Regions from separate parts of the Homo sapiens genome. Here regions 2 and 3 are each linked to region 1. The links are contacts of gene promoters, found by promoter capture Hi-C in human tissues and cell types (Jung and others, 2019). All regions are on one chromosome and are shown on one strand. The core of a region is centred on a gene start or on the middle of the fragment in contact, and the rest is flanking DNA. Distances in the headings are between cores, read along the strand shown.

Region 1 (5,162 bases), core at 1,824-4,323:
TCTGATGGACATGACTCATGGGGTAGGGAGTGTCACTGGCATCTAGTGGGTAGAGACCAGAGGCGCTGCTGAATATCCTACAATACACAGGGGAGTCCCACAACAAAGAATCCTCTGACCCAACTGTCAACAGTGCCCAAAATGAGAACCCCTCATCTAGACCTGTCTCTTTTCTGATGTCCAACCCCAACAAACCTCATTCAAAGACGAGGAACTGAGGTTCAGAGACATGAATGACTTGCCTAAGTTTCCATAGACAGCCACTACCAGTGGCCAACTCTCTACTCCATCTGGCTTCAGGGTCTGTGGTCCATTCCACATACTACACTGTCTCTCTAGGAAGACATCCCCTTGTCCCCAGGCACCTTGGCCCTGGCAGATTATCTACGGCAAGGGTTACAAGTTTTGCCTTAAGGCATAAGCACCTCCCCACTTCATGATTAGAGGTTTTATGACTTTGCACTTGTAATCATTGTTTCTGCTCATTTTGCTGTGTGCTAAACATTTTATGAGGATTAACTCATTTTACCCCAAGGATATGTCACAGAGAGGTTAAGATCAGACACTAAGTGGCAGATTTGTGCTCTCGACCCAGATAAGAGGTCTCCAGGGACCAACCTCTCGGCCTCTCTACCGTGGTCCTCCTCATGCTTTGAACTTCGCCTTGGCAAAGTTGGGGCACAACAACCAATCCTTTAGCTGGGAACTGGGTGGGGGCAGAAACAGAGAGAGCCTCTACTTCAGACCATGCTGCCCAGCTGGGTGGTCCTAGAGAATCTGCCAGAATTTCAGCTCTTTTCCCATGCAATGCCCCAGGAGAAAAGACGCAGGCCTCTGAACAGAGATGAGACAATGTGCAGGGAACTCAAAGCCAGAGGGCGTGGGCAGGGGCTAAGAGGGAGGGGACCTTGGAGGGAAGGAATATGACATCCTCAGGACCTGTCCAAAGTTCTTGGAGCAAACCCAGCTATGCAAGTGAGGTTCCTGCAGTAGCCTCCACTCCAGCATCTCATTCTCATTAGCTGCAACTGATCTTATTAGCTATCCTGGGTCAGTTTGGATTTTGGCAAGCCTAGATTTGGCAATGGCCTCAACACAAAGATCGCACGGGGTAAGCAGGGATGCGCTGACACCCAGGAATGGATTCCACGAGGCAGCCTGCTGGGGGATGGCATTGAGTTCCAGCTCTGCCCCTTCCTGGCTTCATGACCTTTGCAGAGCCTTGGCGCTTCCTCTGACAAGTGGGGACTTGGGACCCAGCAGTCCCCAAGTCCCCATTGTAAATGTGAGGACTGGGGCTTGTGTCAGGGATCCTAGCACCTTAAGGGTCCTGGAGGGGTTGGGGCCAGCTGTCTCCCACAGGCTGGGTGACCTTGAGCAAGTCTCTTCCCCTTTTGTGCCTCTGTGTGTTTAACTGTCAAATGAAGGGGCCACGTCTTTAATGCAGAAGCCCTTTTAGGTCTTAGGACTCCAGACTGGACCATTTACCTCTCCCCGTGGCTAACCTCTTTGGGCCTCGAGAAAACACATTTCTCTATGACTCCACGCCGCAACACAGGCTCCAAAGAGCAAGACACAACTCACTGCCTCCCTCTCTCCTGCCTCCCAACCTGACCCACCAGAGAAGAGCTCTTCCCACCCCCTCCCCACCCCCAGGTCACCAACATCCTGTCCCTTAGTCTAGCTTCATCAAAGCAGCAAAGCCAACACTGTCTCCTCCCCAGTGGATGGGCCCAGCAGCACCCATTTCTCTTGGCTGAGTGCCCAGGGAATTCCACCAGGCAATGTCCACAGGCGCTTGCGGGGGTGCACACTTTAGGGGGGAAATGCGGGCCCTCTTGGAAGAGGGCCAGCTGTCCTCCCAGACTGCAAGAGAGAATGCATTGAACACAGCCTTTGTGCGTGTGTTGGGGCAGGGAGCGGGGGAGAGGTGGCGGGTGGTCTCTGCTGGTCCTGCTGCCTCAGAGGCCATCTCTGTTGTCAGAGTTTGAAGACTCCTGGAAGGGCCTCTAGGCCCCAGATCCCAGTTTTAAGAGCTCCAGTCTTACTAAATCTCGCTGAACCCCCTCTAGTCTTACCTTGGCCAGGGTGGGTGAGGAAAGGTGAGAGGATGTGAAATAGGTGGGGCAGCCAGGTGTGGGAGTGGAGTTGGGGTGAGGTGGAGAAGGATGGGATTGGGAGCGGTGGGAGGATGGTGCAGGGGGTTACTAGGATGGGGTTTGTGTGAAAGGGCTTGGGTGGAGTGGAGGGAGGTGGATGACTTGGAGGGGTGGCCAGACCTTTGCCCTGCTCCTGAGTATGAAGGTCCCTCATTTTACATCTTTACTGGGGAGGAGAGGGGAAATCCCCAAAAGCCTTTAATGTGGTGGTGTCAGAGGCCACCCTGCCTCTCTGACGGGTAGGGAGGGGTCTCCGGCAGGGCTAAGGGTGAATCATCTATCTCTCCAGAGCCCAGTATCTGGGGTGGGAGGGTGACTTGCAGAGTCTCTGCTCCGGGATTTCCTTGTCTTATGATGGGGGGAGAGCTTCCATTTGTCATGGAGGGGGAGGTCACTGTAATTTATAAGCTGAGAAGACCCCCATTATTCCGAAAGAGAGGGGAGAAGGAAGACACCCAAACTTAGTTTTCTAAGGATGGGGAAGGGGCATCAGTCTCCCAAGAGGTGAGGGGGCTCTAGAGACCTGGAGACCACTTTTTGGGGCCGCATTCTATTTCAAGCGGTAAAAGGGAGAGGACTTCTGTCTAGAGCTGGAGCCAGGAGGAAGGGCCCATTTCTGAAGGAGAAAGGAAGGTATTTTGCTCTCTGGGGGGTGGGAGCCCCTGTCTTTTCGGGGGAGGGCCCCGCGTCTTGGGAAGATGAGGGCTCCGTTTCCAGGAGAAGATGCCCAGGTTTTGCTCCTGGGGGCAGGGCAGAAGGACCTCCTCTCGGCTCCCCTCGGAAGGGCCCGTCCCAAGCCACCCGGCGCCTCGCGCTCACCTCCAGGCCCCGTCTCCGATCTGCGGGATCCGATCCGCCGGGTTCCGACTTGCGGGATGCGCGCCCCGAGTTCCGGCAGCGCTGGGTGTCTGCTCGACTTCCCCCAGCGACTCGCCGGACTCCCTGGCTCCGCCGAGCGTCCCGGCCAATCAGCGCCGCCAGCCCCGGCCCTCGCTTTCGCCACAGCCAATGGGTGCGCCCGCCACGGGCCACCGCCCCCAGGAGGGAGGTGGCAGGCGGGGCGGGGGCAGAGTCCAGCCTCCGGGGGCGGGGGAGACGGGGGCTGGGGCGGGACCCACCAGAGGGACCGCGAGGGCTGGGAGGGAGTCCTGGGACTGGGGAGGAGACGGCTGAGGACCCCCGTCAAGTTGTGGGGACCCTGACCCTCTGGGGGGCAGCTCCATAGGTTGATTTAACCTGGATCTTAATGGGCCATTTACACCCTCAGGGCTGCAGGCGAGTGTAACTCCACCTCCACCCGCGTCTCGGATCCGGTCTCTGGAGCTCCAGAGTCGGAATCAGAAGGGGTTCCTTTGCGGAGAAGGGAAGGAGCATCCCGCCCTCCCCACCTCACTCCCCATCTCGGCGCTCAGGGCCCTGCCAGCCCTTCTTGCTCCCAGCTACTTTCCTCCGCCTGGCCCCAGCGCTCCGGAAGACAAACAGGGCGCTGGGAGTCAGAGGTGGTTCCTTCTGCATGACCTGGAGCAGGTCACTGCGCCTCCTGATCCTCAATTTCCTGAAATTGGGACAACAGAGATTGTACCTCCTTCGTGGGTATAAACGAGACCCTAGATATGATGAAGGTGCCTTTCTACCGTTGTATAAAATGCTGTGTGGAAGATAATTAATACTCAGGTGTGACGGATGGATAGCCCCCCCACAGCTTTCTAGAGGTATTTGGAAAGAGGATGCAATCTTTCAGTGACAAAATCAAAGACACAAAGAACTGCTCATCAAGACAACAGGCGATCACCAAGTCCTCATAATGAATGAATGGATGGATGGAGAGTACAGACCTTAAAGGCAGAGAAAGAGTTCAGCTTGGTTCTCCCCACTCACCCTGATCACTGATAACTTGGTCTGTGGAGTCTTGTAGAACCCTGAGGTCTCTCCTCCTGCTGTCCAGGAATCCAGGCTGCCCTATCTCTGATTACACAAGCGCTATAGTCCTTGCAATTAAAGAATTAAGATAAAGTAAACACATAGATAAATAGAAAGCTGCCAAACAAATCATTCACCTCCTAGTGTCACCTCTGGGGACCCTCCCCCCCAACACACACACACACACACACACACACACACACACACACACACAGAGCAGTAAATAAGAATAATTGAGGCCTGGCACAGTGGCTTACGCCTGTAATTCCAGCACTTTGGGAGGCCGAGGCAGGCAGATCACTTGATGCCCAGAGCTCGAGACCAGCCTGGCCATCATGGGGAAACCCCCTTTCTATTAAAAATACAAAAATTAGCCTGGCATGGTGGCACCTGCCTGTAATCCCAGCTACCTGGGAGGCTGAGACATGAGAATCGCTTGAATGGAGAGGCAGTGGTTGCACTGAGGTGAGATGGCACCACTGCACTCTAGCCTGGGTGATTGTCACCTTGCTTGAGGAACTTGATGAGGCCTGTGCTGAAAATCTAGCAATTTTTTCTTAAAACCAAAGCCATGAACATAATCCCCTTTACTACCCTTGACCTGCCCAAAGAAATACAACGGCCAATAAACATGGGAGATGACACTTTGAAAAGGAAAGGCAAGTTAAAACCAAAAGAGGGAAAGAGTTTACCTACCAAAATGACCTTGTTTTTATTATTATAATTACTATTCTTTGCAAAGACTTCAAGGAGTTTCATGTATTGATGATGGCAGTAGAAAGATCACAGCCTTTCTGGAGGGAAATTGGGTATTTCTATTTTAAAAATCTTAAAAGTAAGTTGACCCTTTGATCTAGCAATCCAATCCCTATGAACTTATCTGAAAACATTTAAAGGTACAAAGATTTAATGATAAAGTAGCTTACTACCATTTTGTTTATCACAGGGAAAAACTGGGAACAACTTGAATGCACAACAGCAGGGACTCAGAGGGAAATTGTTGCATGAAATTGAACAATAAACATAGGTATGAAATATTGAATGGGGCTGGGTGTGGTGACACGCCTGTAATTCCAGCACTTT
Region 2 (5,162 bases), core at 1,649-4,148, 440 kb before region 1:
AAATGATAGACTAGAAAACCTACCCCACCATCCATCTCCCTCTCCCTCTCACTAATACTGAACCAAAAAGGAAGCCCATTCTCAAAGTTCATGACCTCTCTACTTTAGGTCACCTCGAATGCAGTCTACATGTTTACATTTACCATAAGGAAAGTACCCCGCATGGGAAGTAGTGTTTGTCTTAAAACTGAGTACTTTAGGCCTACAGGGTTACTCTGGGGACAGTTTAATAATAATACTGCTACTTTAGAGCACTAACACACACAAAGTGAATCCAATAAAGCTCTGGGCATTGATTCAATATTTAGTATTAATTGCATGACCATCATAGCACCTCTTTACATCACACAATCACCAGAATTAGAAATTGATTTGAAAACTAAAAACAGGGCACAGTCCAATAATTAGAATTGCACACTGTTACTATATAGAAACCAGGTGCATGGTACAGTGCAGCTGCAAAAATGGAAGCCAAATCATGTTTTTAGACAATTTTAGGAACCTGGCAATACTGTTGAAGCAAAATACTCAACACAGCAGGAAATGGACCCAAAAAAAAAAAAAGCATTCTATAACCAAATAAACATCTGATATTTCCTTTCCCTTTGAGAATAAATACAGTTAAGGTCACTTTTAGCCTTGGAACGGATATATGTTTGCCTATGATGATCTTGCTAACGACTACACAATATCTGATGTCCTCTGCTAGGATTATAGTTTTAAGAAAGCCATAATTACAAGAGGCATCTACTATAAATACCTAGAACTTCCTTTTATGGCAACCACTATAGAATTCACTTGTCTTAAACAGTGAACAAGGGAAGATGGCCTCATGTTTCCTTTGCAATTATAGTATATGTTGAGGATCAAGTGGCTTTCAAGCAGCATGGTGGGTGTGAAAATGTTTGCAGTTTAGATCATTCTGTTGCGTTTATGGGTTGGTGAGTCTGTAATGACATCGCCACACTGGGCTGAGGTACGCTTTCTAGTTCCACCATTGTCCAAGTGGAGTGCCATTTCTTCTGATATGAAAGTGTTCAAATCGACATCATGGAGTCCATTTCTCCTTCGACTAGCATTCGATCCACTGCTTACATGTGTAGGAGAGCCTGGGGTACTCGAACGCACGCTTATACTAGCCATTGCACCACTAAGACCTAGGAAGAAGAAAAAAGGTTTTAGAGTTGCTCAATTATGTAACCCTTTTGAAAGCAACCCACTTACTTTCCATGTTGTCACAATGTCAAAGCATGTCTGCCTATTTCCTTTATAAGGGATTACTAGTAAGCAATTAAGTTTTATTCTGGATAAACATATCATCTGGCCTTGACATATATTTTATTGGTAATACTACCAATATCTACAATATTGGTAACTACCAATTACTAAAAGTTACTACGTGTCAACCACCGTGCTAGGTGTACAAATATCTCATTAAATTCTCCCATCTATGAGGTAGGTACTGCACAAAATTTACAGATAAGGACAGGAGACATTTGCTTTAAAGACAAGACATTTTTGGTTACCCAAAGTTACCATTCCAACAGACCCCTCTGATGAGTGTGTATGTGTGTGATGTATTCAGGAGAGCCAGAAATCACTTCCAGGCCTAGGTGGGCTTGTTCCAACATCCCCTCTAGATAAGGTGATCACATAACTTGCCATCCAAAACAGATTACTGTTGAGCCCGAAAAGAGTCACTGTTAAAATTTCTACTGGGACATGAGGTACAAAGTCAGTCTACCCTGGACAAATCAGGCTATGTGATCACCTAAGGTCTGGAATGTATTTGGTAGATATCCTTCAGGACAGCCTCAATCATGAGCCTCTCTAATCCTTCATGGAAGTGGGGAGGGGAGAGGGTTGTGAAGAATCCTGCTGCTTTGTTTTCAACATTAAGAGTTACTGAATCCAAGGCCAGGCGCAGTGGCTCACACCTGTAATCCCAGCACTTTGGGAGGCCGGGCAGATCTCTTCAGGTCAGGAGTTCATGACCAGCCTGGCCAACATGGTGAAAACTCGTCTCTACTAAAAAATACAAAAATTAGCCCGGCGTGGTGGCAGGCGCCTGTAATCCCAGCTACTCGGGAGGCTAAGGAGGAGAATCGCTTGAACCCGGGAGGCGGTGGTTGCAAAGAACCGAGACTGCACTCCATCCTGGGTGACAAGAGCGAAACTCCGTCTCAAAAACAAAAGAGTTACTTTACTGAATCCAGAATATACCCAGCACTCATGGATACTTATTCCTTTCCTTAAACTCTTACACAGTTAAAGAGCCAAACTTACATTCCACTCCTAAACATTCAGGATAAACCTGTGAAAGGTATGAGTCAGGCCAGGAAACACCAAACACAGTGTTGCATTTTTAAAAACCTACCGTCACTGGCAGTGATCTTCTGCCTTAGGAATTTCCCCTTCCACTATTCTCTCCTCACCTAGGGATCTGTTATTGCTTGACTATCAATTAATTTTCAAAGAATAGGACTTATAAGATTTTCAAGTAAGCTTAGAGGTTTCATTTGACAGGGGCCCATTCTTTCTAATCATGAACTCCCTAAAAATGTAGTTTAAATTTGAATTTTAAGTTGAAAAGTCTCTGCCTCCTATCACAAATCTATTACATTCCCCTTGGCGTTCCCCTCCATCAAATATTCTCTGAAATGTTCTCAAATCCATGGCCTCCACTATCATCGCACATGCTGACAATGTCCTGAGGGCCACACCTCCCTTCTGAGGTGCTCAACTCCGCACTCTAGGTGCCCCCATTCCTTTCTGCACTGATCCAACCAATCCCCCTGGCTGCTCTCCCTGCAGAAGACACATCCTCCCCTCCTGCTGGTGGTCAGAGGAAATCAAACTGTCCCTCTTCAGCCTCTCAACCTTTCCAAGGCTAGCACCTATTAAAAAATAGAAGCATTAACATGAGAATACTTCCTGTGTCAGGTACTATGTCAATTACTTCCTATGACACCTATAATATCTCCATTCTGCAGGTGAAAACCCAAGTTTAAAAGTTAATTCATCCAAGGTCAACAGGTAGTAAACAAGAGCTGGCACTCCCACCCAAGTGTAATCTATATTCCTATTCAGTTATTCTGATCCTCTTCCAAGCCTAGAGTATTTTAGCAAAAAGGTGGCTTCAGGTTGGTCCTAGGGCCAGCCTGCCTCTTAGGCCTCATCTCTTTGAACAGTTTCTCTCTCTTCCCTTCCTGCTCTCTTCACTTCACCCTTAGACCGTATCCCGACTACCAACATCATGCAATTTGCAGCTCTCTGAAATAGTGAGGCCTGCAACTATCTGTCTCTTCCAACATTTGCAAATGTCTGTCTCTCCCAACATTCACTCCCTGAGTGAGCCCACCTGTTCCCCAGCACCTCCCTTATGAGGCTCCTTCCCTGGTTCTCCTACCTCTCCATTTTAGTTTCCTGCTGGCTCCTCTTTCCCCCTCCTTGAAATTGAAACTCTCCGCTCACTCCTCAGTCGCCTTGGTGGGGTTCCCTTCTGCCCCTGAAAGGCTGGTGTCACCCTGGGTGATATCCTCAACCCCTACCTTACCCACACACGTTTCCCAAAACTAGACTAATGAGCTCAACGGCCCTCCCAGATTTCTAACTGCCTACTGGACATCTCAAACTCAACACCATCAAAAAGGAACTTCACTTCCTCTTCCCCAACCGGCACAAGCTTACTTTTAAAAAACAAAATAAACCAAAAAAAAATCTTGAGCTATCTTTCTACAGCATGGTACAATCAACCGTCTCTTCCTATAGAAAATATCTTTTCATCTCCATCTAATGACCTAAGCACAGTGCCTGGCACTTACGAATTCTGAAAAAGAATAATACTTCAAAGTCCTACCCCCTCATGTTGAAATCCACTGAAATCAAAGGTTCAACTGTTGATGTTTATTCACCTCTCCAACACCAGAAAATAAACCCAGGTGTTCTCTTCACTTAAATCATTGCCATCAAGTTTAAAACTCAATTATCCCCATTGTTGGCTTTTTTTTAAAGTTCTACCGCAAGACTAAACTTGAGGGGAGAGATGTGCCTTCTTTCATCCTAGTGTCTCAGCCTGTAACATATTACAAGGTGCCCATGTTCTTCAAAGATAACCTTTCGTACTTGTTTCATAATCCAAAAGGTAATTATTATGGCAAAATATGGGCACGTTCAGCAATAAACTGGGCTACTTCAATAATTAAAATCAAGATCCCCTTTATCATTTCAAATTATAAAAAGAATTCAACAAACCCCACCCTAATGCCCTTGTTAACATAGGAGTCTCATGGCAGCACGTTTAATACCTAACAACAAATATGGAAGGCTCAAAACACTGTATCAGAAGTGGACTAGGGATTTCAAGCAAATGTTCCTTATTGTTTCAGCTGCCATTCTCCATGAAAAAGAAGATGTGTTAAACATCAATTTGGTCAATCTGAAAATTCTAACAGCTTCTGGGAAATCATCTTTTTCTACTGGGTGTATGACCTGGGTGTTTATCTTGATAACTTTAATGTGCAATATGATCTATGACTGACTCTCATAGCAGTGAAAATATTTTCAAAGTCTGCCTACCTAATCTTCCCCAAAAAGACTTTTCACAAGGGTCAAAAATAATTAAGATTAACAACCAAAAAATGTGCATTTTGACAGCCCAAATTTTATTTTACAAACCAATGACAGCTACTAGAAGATGCTTTAGGAAACCTTAGCTAAGCCACATAAACAATCAGACCTATACAAGTACAGAAAAATCTAAACATGCTTCAGAACTAAAAAAAAAACAAAAAAAAACAAAAAAAACAAAAAAAAAAAACCAAGTTGTACGTCCTGAGGGCATACAACTTAATTTCTACAAAAACATACTTTTTCAAAAGGGCTATGAGAGTATCAATTGACAAAAGCAGAACAAGTAGCATGATTAGACAGAGAAGTCTTAATTGCTTAACACAAGATAAACTCAGCAGTTTTAAAGTGTCTGTATCCATTTTAAATGATTAGTCCAGGGGTAGAAAAGATGAGGATGGTTTCATCATACTTTGAAAAGGAAACTCCCACTGGAGCTAAAACAAACTTACAGTCCAGGTTATAAGAATCCAAGTTACATAGTAAATTATTAACTATTATTTTCATACCAAGTTCATGCTTAGGCAATAAGA
Region 3 (5,162 bases), core at 1,889-4,388, 270 kb before region 1:
GGACCCGGAAGCGGCAGGGAAACATTTCCCCCTAGAACCTCCAGAAGGAATGTGGCCCTGCTGGCACCTTGGTTTTAGCCCGGTGAGACCCATTTCAGACTTCTGACCTTCAGAGCTGTGAAAGAACAAGGTGTGTCAACTTACCTGGGTCACCCAGAGCAAGTGGCAGAGCTGGGATTGGAACACATGTGGTCCGGCTTCACCATAGCCAGTAAGTGCTATTGGTCATAAAGTAGTGGTTACTGAATTTTAATTAATATTTTTTTGGAGACAGGCTCTCCCTCGTGCCCAGGCTGGAATTCAGTGGCGCAATCACCGTTAACTATAGCCTCAAACTCCTGGGGCTCAGGAGTCCTCCCACCTCAGCCTCCCTAGTGACTGGGACTACAGGCACACCACACCTGGCCATTTTTTTTCTTTTTTGTATAGACGGGGGGGTCTACTTTTTTATTTAAACACCCTCCTGCTTTCATCCATTTTCCTACCTCACCACCCAAAAGTCGTGAACTGCAGTTGGGCTTCCCAGTCTGAACGTTGTGGTGTGGTTCCCCACATGCTTTGAATATAGAAAGTAGCCCACTGCCTGAATAGTCCAGGGCCACTGATACACTGCAGGTGGCATTTGGTGGCATAAAAAGAGATGAAGCAAAATAACGCACGTTGGTAGATTGCTTCCTTTGTGAATCAGGTGTTCAGTAACAAGTTTTAATGAGATCCTGAGCTGAATGAATCATTCCTAAAGCAAACCATGCTGGGCTGTATGTATCTGAGTGTATGGAGAGATTTAAATGTGAAAAGGCCTGAGTCTTGTCTGCGAGGGCTCAGGGTGCAGGTGCACAGCGTCTCAGCATACCCAGGTCTCTAGATGTACAGAGTTAGATATTACAGCATTTTAGACCTAAGTATAGCCTCATGCGCTCAGGTCCTCAGTCATCCTCATGCCCACAAGCCCTCTGCATTTACAGATGAGCAAATAGGATATCCAGGGGCTCTCTCCAAGCCTGCAGAGCTCATCACATGAATCCGGCTGGCTCAGGGCGAGGTGGGTGAGCCCCCTGCTCCCCGGGCTGTGTTCTCTGTGGAGCCTTGGCCAGTTGGGGTGGTGTCCTTCCTGTTGCCTAAATCACCTAGTTTCTTTAAGATGACAGCTTTCACAAGGTGGAAGGAAAACTGGGTCAGGGCTACCAGAGGCTCAGGATTCCTTATCTGAGCAGAGGTTGAAGGAAATTAGGTGACTTAAGAGGCCAGATTTTAAAGATTAAATATATATATGATGTACATCTTCATAGGCAACTTTGGAAACAATATTTAGTTTGTAAAGTGACTGTAGCAGTCAAACAGTGGCAAGCCTACAGTTTTAAATACAGAAATCCTTACTTGGTTTGACTTTAAGCCTTGCCTGTTAAGTCACTGATCGAAGAAAGTAGAAATAAACATGGCTTTTTTATCTTAGTTTTCTGCGTGTCGCTGCTGCTCACACAATGCACAAGAGCTGTGAATTCTTGGGACGTTGCATCAGATCAGTTTTTTCAGTCTGTGCACAGATCTTAGCTTGAATGGTTACTTAACTGGTCACCAATTGTACATGAGGTTCTCTTGGGAAAAATAAGACAGGAGGCCCAAGTTCTGGCCCCATTGAACTTGGTCAGGAGTGACTGTGTGCGCAGAAACAAGTGACAAATAGTGCCCGCTCAGATCACTGTCGTGCGCTGGTCAGTGCCTGGGGAAGACATGCATGTAAGCCAGGTGACCCTTGGGTCCCTCGCCAGTGGGATGTGGCCCTGCGGGTGACTGGTTGAGCTTCAGGATGCAGGGCAGCCAGGCACATACAGCTTCTGAATCTTGGACAATTAGCAGTGCCATGTTCGTGGCAGACAGGGCTGGGTTGGTAACTGAGACTGTTGTCTCTGTCAGCGCCCAGTCCTGTGGGAAATGTGCTGCTGAAAGCTCTGTCCCAGCCCAAGTGATCAAAGTCTTCAGTGTTCTCAAGTTGGGGTTAATTGCCTTGGGGTAAGGGGTCTGGAGAGGAAGAATTAGCACCACACATCTGCATTTACTCTTAATGATCAGTATTTCCTTTGGAAATCAGAAGCTGTTATTTAAAATGTAATTCTTTTTTGATGAAATTAAAGGGCTTTTATTTTTCTTAAAATACTGTTTTAATCTTGAGTGTTTATCAGAGAGCACTGGGTCCCATCTTTTTTTTTAGAGCAGAAAATGTCTGTTGTGTCTTCTACTCTGCAAGCCTAGATACCAAGGCTCTGAGTGATAACATTATTTCTAGACCTTCGCTGTCCACTGTGGCAGCCACTAGCCACATGTGGTTGATTAAATTAAATACATAAATATTTGGTTTTTTGGTCTCCATGGCCATATTTCATGTGCTCAATAAGTACATGTGGCTATTTAAATAAAATTAAATTGAATAAGATTAATAATACCAATTCCTCTGTCACAACAGCCATGTTTCAAGCGCTCAGTTGCCACATGCAGCTCCTGGCTTCTATGGTTGGTGGGACAGCACTGCTGTTTAGACAGAGCCTGTGAATGGGGGTTTTCCTTTGCTATTCTAGGGGATAGCAACCGTTAGACCTCCTTGACCAGTATGGTTTAGAATATGGAAAGCCAAGCATTTTCATGTAATAACTTCTTAGAAGGAGCTTCCCCAAGCTCAGCTTAGGGCATACTTGCTGGTAATCACTGCTTCAGGCCCTGGGGGCTTGGAGGGGAAGCAGAGATGAAGTGATAAGGTGTCTCTGCGTAAGGAAAGCCAGCATGGGTTCAGATAGGTCATATGAGCAAATAATGAGGGCAGAAGGTGATGAATGCACAGAGGTGAGCAGATAGGGGCCTGGAAATTGAAGAACAAGATTGCACTCTGAGAGAAGGAAGGCATGGTGAAGAGGTGGTGTTGTGGTGGGCCTTAAAGTAGGCTTAGGACTTGAGCTCGGGGATTTGGAGGTAAGGATGGCAGCGGCAAGGCTTCTGGGTGGATGAAAATAGAAGCACAGGCTGTCCTGGGTATGTCCATTGTATTGGAATTGCCATGTTGTGTTGTGTTACTTTGCTTTTCTTCTCCACTAGACTTTGAGGTTGTAAAGTTCAGGGACTGTGCCCCAGGCATTTTCAATGCCTCGAACAGTAGTTTTTCCCTACATAGTACCCAACAATCAATTGCATTGCATTTTTATGTCTCAGTTTCAATCCCAGTGGAACGTGCCACGATGTTAAATGCCAGTTAACCTTAATTTTACCTGGTTTGGTAACAGTTGTAAAGGATTAGATTTGCATCTGTGCTTTTTGATAAAATTCGGTAACAATCATGATTTTTAAAATAACTTCATTGAGAGATAATTCACATACCACAATTCACCCATTTAAAGTGGGTTCAGTGGTTTTTAGTATTCACAATTGTGTGACTATCAGCATTCAATTCGAGCACATTTTCATCACCACAAAAGGAAATCCTGTACCCATTAGCAGTCACCACTAATCTATGGATTTGCCTATTCTAGACATTTCATAGACTGTGTAAGCTTTTTTTTTTCCCCTTTGGGAGACAAGATCTTGTCACCCAGGCTGGAGTGCCGTGGTTTGATCATAGCTCATTGCAGCCTTAAGCTCCTGGGCCAAAGCCATCCTCTCCCATCAGCCTCCCGAGTAGCTGGAACTGCAGGCACACGCCACCACGCCTGGCTAAGTTTTGTATTTTTTTTCTAGAGACGGGGTTTCGCTGTGTTTTCCATGCTTGTTTTTGGCTGCTTTTATCGTTGTGTTGTCCATGCTTGTTTTTGGCTGCTTTTACTTAGCTTAATATCCTCAAGGTTCATCCACATCGTAGCCAGTAGTCGTTCCCTTTTCTCGCAGAATAATATTCCATCGTGTGGAACTTCACCATGATTTAGCAAAGAGATGTGCAGGTTCTTAGGATTGTGTCATCTGTAATAGGCTTTAGTCAGTATTTTTAAAGGGATTTGAACTTTTTTTGCAGTTAGGAATATGCTTCACTTACTAAGTTGAGTTAACTGGGGGCCAGGTGTGGCAGCTGATACCTGTAATCCCAGCACTTTGGGAGGCCGAGGCCGGTGGATAGCTTGAGCCCAGGGGTTTGAGATCAGCCTGGGCAACATGGTGAAAACTCGTCTCTACAAAAAAATGCCAAAAATTAGTCAGCCATGATGGCGTGTGCTTGTAGTTCCAGCTACTCTGGAGGCTGAGGTGGGAGGATTGCTTGAGCCCAGGAAGTTGAGGCTGCAGTGAGCTGAGATGGTGCCACTCATTCTCCAGCCTGGGCTGGTGGGAGGGAGGAATCAAGGTCAGTTGAGGGTTCCATCAGGGGAGCGGAACTGTGGGAAAGGGATGCAGGGATTTATTAGTGGGATTTTACAGGCCACAGTGGTGGGAGCTCTATTAGCATCTGGGTCTGGTGCTGGAGCTGACTGACGTCTGCAGGGCATGCAGTCTTCGAGAGGTGGTGGGTGGGAGTGGGGAGCCAGGCAGTGCTGCGCTCCAAAGTGCCTGTCACCATGTCCAAGCTTCCAGGGCAGTAATGGAGCCTAAAGACCCTGGAGACAGAGAAATCCCCAGGCATAATGGCATGTGGCAGCTGCTTTACTCCCACCTTCCGAATTGCACACTGAGGGTCTCAAAAGTGGGAGCTGTGCAGGGAGGGGCATGGCATGCCCACCTAGCTGAGGCAGCATGGCACAAACCCATCAGGCAGTCCCACATCTGGAATAGCTAAGTTTTTGATGGCAGGATCCTGTCGAAGTCCTAAAAGACTTCACCCCTTAAAGAGCTTTTGGTGGGTGGGTTATAGCTACTGTTATTTACCATATAGAAATTAAGGCCAACCTTAAATGTTTATTGATTGAAAAATAAGCGCACACCTGTAATCCCAGCATTTTGGGAGGCTGAAGCGGGTGGATCACTTGAGGCCGGAAGTTCGAGACGAGCCTGGGCAACATGGTGAAACCCAGTCTTTTCTAAAAATACAAAAATTAGCTGGGTGTGGTGGTGCATGTCTGTAGTCCAGCTAATCAGGAGGCTGATGTGGGATAGTTGCTTGAACCTGGGAGGTGGAGGTTGCAGTGAGCCGAGATGGCACCACTGTACTTCGGCCTGGGTGATAAGAGTGAGACCCTGTGTGTGTGTGTGTTGGG

Evidence for each region. The method cuts DNA at HindIII sites, captures the fragments that hold promoters and counts their contacts. A contact is called where the count stands out against the background at its distance.
Region 2: a contact is called between a fragment that was not itself captured here and the fragment with the promoter of ABAT in region 1, in 2 of the 25 tissues and cell types used here (lymphoblastoid cells and spleen).
Region 3: a contact is called between a fragment that was not itself captured here and the fragment with the promoter of ABAT in region 1, in 1 of the 25 tissues and cell types used here (spleen).

The regions. Positions count from the first base shown.
Region 1 is chr16:8,672,528-8,677,689 of GRCh38, reverse strand. ABAT (4-aminobutyrate aminotransferase) reads right to left here and starts at 3,073. Exons shown (of 16, transcript NM_020686.6): 1 at 2,979-3,073. RefSeq lists a silencer at 3,021-3,480 and enhancers at 3,075-3,574, 3,575-4,076. The HindIII fragment of the contact is 24,430 bases long and covers 1-5,162 here.
Region 2 is chr16:9,112,663-9,117,824 of GRCh38, reverse strand. It overlaps HAPSTR1 (HUWE1 associated protein modifying stress responses), which reads right to left. Exons shown (of 4, transcript NM_014117.3): 4 at 1-1,157. The coding sequence ends at 913. Among named protein-coding and RNA genes, the nearest start is that of HAPSTR1, 24 kb to the right of the region's middle. RefSeq lists a silencer at 2,219-2,513. The HindIII fragment of the contact is 4,154 bases long and covers 822-4,975 here.
Region 3 is chr16:8,947,353-8,952,514 of GRCh38, reverse strand. The region is part of intron 1 of USP7 (ubiquitin specific peptidase 7); the gene reads left to right. Among named protein-coding and RNA genes, the nearest start is that of USP7-AS1, 13 kb to the left of the region's middle. RefSeq lists an enhancer at 613-742. The HindIII fragment of the contact is 4,822 bases long and covers 728-5,162 here.